Regions from separate parts of the Homo sapiens genome. Here region 2 is linked to region 1. The links are contacts of gene promoters, found by promoter capture Hi-C in human tissues and cell types (Jung and others, 2019). All regions are on one chromosome and are shown on one strand. Each heading gives the region's core, a stretch centred on a gene start or on the middle of the fragment in contact. The rest is flanking DNA. Distances are from core to core; before and after follow the strand shown. Region 1 holds the start of CASQ1 (calsequestrin 1). Region 2 overlaps DCAF8 (DDB1 and CUL4 associated factor 8).

The links. Contacts are between HindIII fragments. The study calls those that stand out against the background at their distance.
Region 2: a fragment that was not itself captured here is called in contact with the fragment with the promoter of CASQ1 in region 1 in 3 of the 25 tissues and cell types used here (adrenal gland, aorta and hippocampus).

The regions. Positions count from the first base shown.
Region 1 is chr1:160,189,209-160,191,908 of GRCh38, forward strand. It overlaps CASQ1 (calsequestrin 1), which reads left to right and starts at 1,367. Exons shown (of 11, transcript NM_001231.5): 1 at 1,367-1,822. The coding sequence starts at 1,544. The HindIII fragment of the contact is 26,832 bases long and covers 1-2,700 here.
Region 2 is chr1:160,228,683-160,231,382 of GRCh38, forward strand. It overlaps DCAF8 (DDB1 and CUL4 associated factor 8), which reads right to left. Exons shown (of 14, transcript NM_015726.4): 7 at 2,615-2,700. Among named protein-coding and RNA genes, the nearest start is that of PEA15-AS1, 21 kb to the left of the region's middle. The HindIII fragment of the contact is 7,705 bases long and covers 1-2,700 here.

The sequences.
Region 1 (2,700 bases), core at 117-2,616:
AAAAAAAACACCACTGTCCCTCTAGAATCAGAGATACCTCAGGGTGCAGTGGCAGCATGTGACTTTGATCTGACCCTCTATGGTCTCCCTCATGCCTCAGTTTACCTGTGCATAGTAAGAACCCTGGAGGGCCATGAAGAGGATCCTTCCTTCCTACGTATCCAGAGTTAAACTCACTACTCTGTCCTCACCCCCCAAGCTGGATCCAGAAGTTTAAGCCCCTACCCGCCCATCTCTGCTTTGGATCTCGGGTGCACAGAATTAATCATCAGTCTTGGTTCAGGGCACAGGGTTCACCTCTTCATGCTTGCCTAATGTTAATTTTTTTTTGCCCTGGTGTCAATACCTGATCCTCTTTGTCTTGTCAAAGACATGGGAATAAATAGTAGCTATTCACTCTCCTTGGAAGCATGCAGCCTGGGAAAACCTCCCTTCCCACTGTGCCCCAGAAAACCGAGTCCCATAGGATCAGGGTAGGGAGTGCACACACAGGTGGCAACCAAAGGACAGACCCCTTCTCATTGTGGGCTTTATAGGCAGAGAAACCCCAAACCCACATCTCTACAGGACAGGATCTGGGCCAGCCCTGTCCTTCCCTGCATTCCCAAGTTAGGAGTGCTGAGTGAAGCAAAGGAAACTGGCTGGAGCTGAGCCAGGTTGCCAGTCTTGGACGCGGCTCCATCTTTTATTCAGAGAATGACCTCATCCTTGGTCCTGGTTCTTTAAAAGAAAGTGGAGGGGGTCTCTTTCCTGCAGCCTGGCTTGCACTTTTATCGCCCCACTCTCCTACATAGTATCAAAGAATCAGAATCAGACTTCACCTACAGAAGATTCCCAGGCTTTAGGACATAGAGCCAATACCACATTTGTCCCCCTTTTGTCCTATATTATCAATTTAGCCTCTGACCCAGTTAGCTCCTCCTCTCCACTGCATTTAACTTCTAATTACCCTTGCCCCACCCTCGGCCCACCCTAATTACCCTTATACCTCCCCTCCCCCAGCCCCAGCTTCATTTACCTCCGACTCATCTGGTCTTATTTTTAGCTCCGGCATCTCTCCTTTTCCTTTCTTAATATGGCGATGAGCTCTTAGGCCAGTGTGGGGACCGGGGCTGAGGTGCCCTGGACACTGGAGGAGGGGGAGGGAAGGAGCCCCTGGGAGCCTGGGGTAGAAGTGTAGGAGGTGGGAGGATTCCGGCCCGCATGGAGCTGTCCTGGCCTCAGAAGGTTATCCGTCTCTCCTGCCAACCATGGAGACATATTTAGACAGGACCAGGTGGGGACTGAGGGGTGCCAATTTCAGGGGGCAGCTCCGGTTCCCTCCCCGCCCCCTGCTCCTATTCCTCCACCTGACCCTTTTTCCCTTGGCTCTGTCGGCAGTTTCTCCAGGACCCAGCAGTGCCCTCTGTCCACTGCTCTGGGCCATTCCCCAATCCCCCCTCCCACTTGAGCCCCTAACTCAGAATCTGGGACCCAGGGGCCCCTCCCTACCCCAGCTAACCTCTTCTGGACCAGGAGAGCCAACCCAGATCCCACTACCTCCATGAGTGCTACAGACAGGATGGGGCCCAGAGCTGTGCCGGGTCTGCGGCTGGCACTGCTGTTGCTGCTGGTGCTAGGGACACCCAAGTCAGGGGTACAGGGGCAGGAAGGGCTGGACTTCCCTGAGTACGATGGTGTGGACCGTGTGATCAATGTCAATGCAAAGAACTACAAGAATGTGTTCAAGAAGTATGAGGTGCTGGCACTCCTCTACCATGAACCCCCCGAGGATGACAAGGCCTCACAAAGACAATTTGAGATGGAGGAGCTGATCCTGGAGGTGAGTTGGGGGCACTGCAGGCCTGCAGAGCATGTCTAGCCCCTCTCCGGAATCCCCTATCCTACACCCATGTAGCTCTTTGAGGATGGGATCTGGGGGTGAGGGGCAGTGTGGTAGGAACCCTGTCCTGACCAACAGGATGCAAGTGGCATGTGGCTTTAGTCAAATGAGAAACAGAGTCTCAGGAACCCAAAAGTACTATCAGCGTCAGGAAACCTTTAGCAGGGGTGCTGCAGGAAGAGCTCCCCTCCCTGCTATAGGAGGCTGGTAGTATTTGACTTAGGTTTGGCTAGGACACTGAGGGTGAAAAAGGGAGGTACTTGGAGGGCCAGGGGAGAACAGCAGTGTATATTGCACTCCCCTACCCCACCCATCTGCTTAGCCAGAACACGTCCTCTCCACATACTTCAGGGGCTGCACCCCAAAGAGATCCAAACTGAGTGTAAATGTAAATGTTATGATACTTGCATGCCATGTTTAAATATCTCCTAGAGATCATGCCTCCCATTGGACTCCCAGTCCCCTCTCTCTTCCTTCCCCCTCCCTAATTCCCCATTTGTCTCCATTGGATAAGCTGGATGCCCTCACTGGAAAATTCTTATGGTTGCAGGAGGTGTCAGAATGTCTTCCCCAATCTTCTTTTTGTGGGAAAAGTCTCCTCACCTCCAAAATGACTTCAGGCCCAAAGGAGAAAGAAGTTATCATAAGAAAAGAAAAAAAACCTATGTTTGGGAATGTGTTCATACACACACACCTTTAGGAAATGGGATGTGAGTTTTCTTGTCCAAGCTCCTGTGGCCCCTTCTCTGGCCTCAGCTTGTCCAGAGCTTGGAGCATTTCAGGGTGAGACACCAGAACCACAGGCTCTCATTTTGTGC
Region 2 (2,700 bases), core at 29-2,528, 39 kb after region 1:
CTAAACTAAAATTCAGTATTAATGATGCAAAAGCCTTGAGGATCAGTAAGCTATTTCTCTATATTCCCTTGAAGTAATTCCTTTAGGCTAGGAGTGAAAGTTAATGATGTTATGATATATAATATTCAGCAAAAATGTTTTCAAATTTATACCAGAAGATGAGCTGTTTGGGTTCTTTCAAAGGAAGAATAAGAAAGGAGAAACCTCAAAACATTCAGTTGGCTGCACAGGAGAGGTGCCAGAGAAGTTGAGTGTAACCTAATGTCAGAGAAGAGCTGGAGTGCTGAAAGGGCTACCTGCTTGTGTAGGATCAGCGTGCCTCAAAATCTTCACATAGCCAGGCGCGGTGGCTCACGACTGTAATCCCAGCACTTTGAGAGGCCGAGGTGGGTGGATCACTTGAAGACAGTTCGAGACCAGCCTGGCCAACATGGCAAAACCGTATCTCTACTAAAAATACAAAAATAGCCAGGCAAAGTGGCACATGCCTGTAATCCCAGCTACTTGGGAGGCTGAGGCATGAGAATCACTTGAACCCAGGAGGCAGAGGTTGCAGTGAGCCGAGATCGAGCCACTACACTCCAGCCTGGGCAACAAAGTGAGACTCTGTCTCAAAAAAAAAACAAAAATCTTCACATAACTTCTGCCCAGTAAATAGCCAATAGAGGAATATTGAGGCTGATAAGACACAGAAGATTTGAGTATTTCTCCTTGTGTTGAAATGCTAAAACTCTAAGCCTTACTCTAACCCTGGGAAAGTATCAGCTTTGGGTTAAGGCAATATGATATACATATCATATGAATACATATGAATACATACATACATATGAATACAGTTCTCAATACAGCAAACTACTACATTCCCCTCCAAACATCTTGGTCCTAGTGGTGGAATTTGTTAGAGACACAGACTTTTCAAGTAATCTGGAGCTCTAAGTAGGAACTCTCAACTCAAAATTTCAGTGAATGCTCAACTTGGAGGAGGTAGCAACTGAAAATCTATACAAACTACAACCCTTTTTGATCAACAGCTTCTTATTTAAAAATAAAAAAAATTGGCCAGGCACAGTGGCTCATGCCTGCAATCCCAGCACTTTGGGAGGCCAAGGCGGGCAGATCACCTGAGGTCAGGAGTTCGAGACTAGCCTGGCTAACACGGTGAGACCTCGGTTCTACTGAAAATACAAAAAATTAGCCAGGCGTGGTGGCGTGCACCTGTAATCCCAGCTACTCGGGAGGCTGAGGCAGGAGAATCGCTTGAACCCGGGAAGCGGAGGTTGCAGTGAGCCAAGATTGTGTCACTGCACTCCAGCATGGGTAATAAGAGTAAAACTCTGTCTAAAAAAAAAAATCTATGGCTACACATTTAAGGACTGTTGGTGACTAGAGGAAACGAATTTTGAAGGCATGGGAATAGGGGAAGAAGAGAGAAACAAGGTTTTGTCCAGGATTCTTGAACAAGGCAAAGTCATCTCATGTATTTTCTAAAAATTTACCCTATTCCCCATGATTCTTATTAATAAAATGAATCTGGAAATATAGCTATAAAATGTGCTCTCATTTCAAAAGGAAGATGATGCTTTTCACTTACCATTAGGAAAGCAAAAAGTCACTCATTTTTCTAGTGATCTTGCCCCTCTCTCTCCTTTCAAACTGATGAGCCCAAAGAAACATAGTTAAAATAGGCCAACTGGATAGGGATGGATACAGCTTATTACTAAGGGTCAGAGGAAATTAACTAATACATATGGAGACTGAATCCACAGTGTCTGTTTTCCTTAGGTCATGTCTCAAGAGCCAGTGTTAACAAAAGGTGTTCACGGTAACAAAGATATCACTATGGATAAAAAAAAGTGGTAGCTCAGGACAGTGAGAGCCAAAAAACCCTCAGTTCACACTAAGTGCTCCCAAGTCAAACTATTTCTGAATTGAAAACCAGTATTTAAAATTTCTAGTGCACGTTTATTTACATACGAAAAAGGTAGATTATTTACTAATATAGTACTTGCTGGTAAACCTAAATTTATGGCTTAGCTGCCACGTGAGGACCTTGGTCAATTCATCTAACTTCTTTTCTTTTCTTTTTTGAGACAGAGTCTCGCTCTGTCATTCAGGCTGGAGTGCAGTGGCACAATCTTGGCTCATTGCAACCTCTGACTCCTGAGCTCAAGTGATCCTCCTGCCTCAGCCTCTTGAGCAGCTGGGACTACACGCATGTACCACCATGCCTGGCTAATTTTTGTATTTTTTTTTTTAGAGACAGAGTTTTGCCATGTTGGCCAGGCTGGTCCCAAACTCCTGTCCTTAGGTGATCCACCCGCCTCACCTCCCAAAGTGTCGAGATTACAGGTGTGAGCCACTACACCTGACCATCATCTAACTTCTTTAAAACTTGATAATCTCTAAAATATGTAAAGTCACCCCTCAGAGACTGTTACATTAGAGAACAGAACATCTCCAAAGGCGTGTAAGATTTTTGGAAAACGGTAAAAAATTCAAGATAATAGTTAATGGATTCCTATAAAATTCGTAACTCTCCATAAAGGAGCACCTGGTAGTATACAATGCATCAGTCTTACAAACTGTCAAAGACACAAAAGAGCCACAAACTCACCTTACAAACTGATCTCGTCCACCCACTGCAAACTGGTGGGTATTGGCAGGATTCACATAGATCGTATACAGCCCCACTTTCTTCTC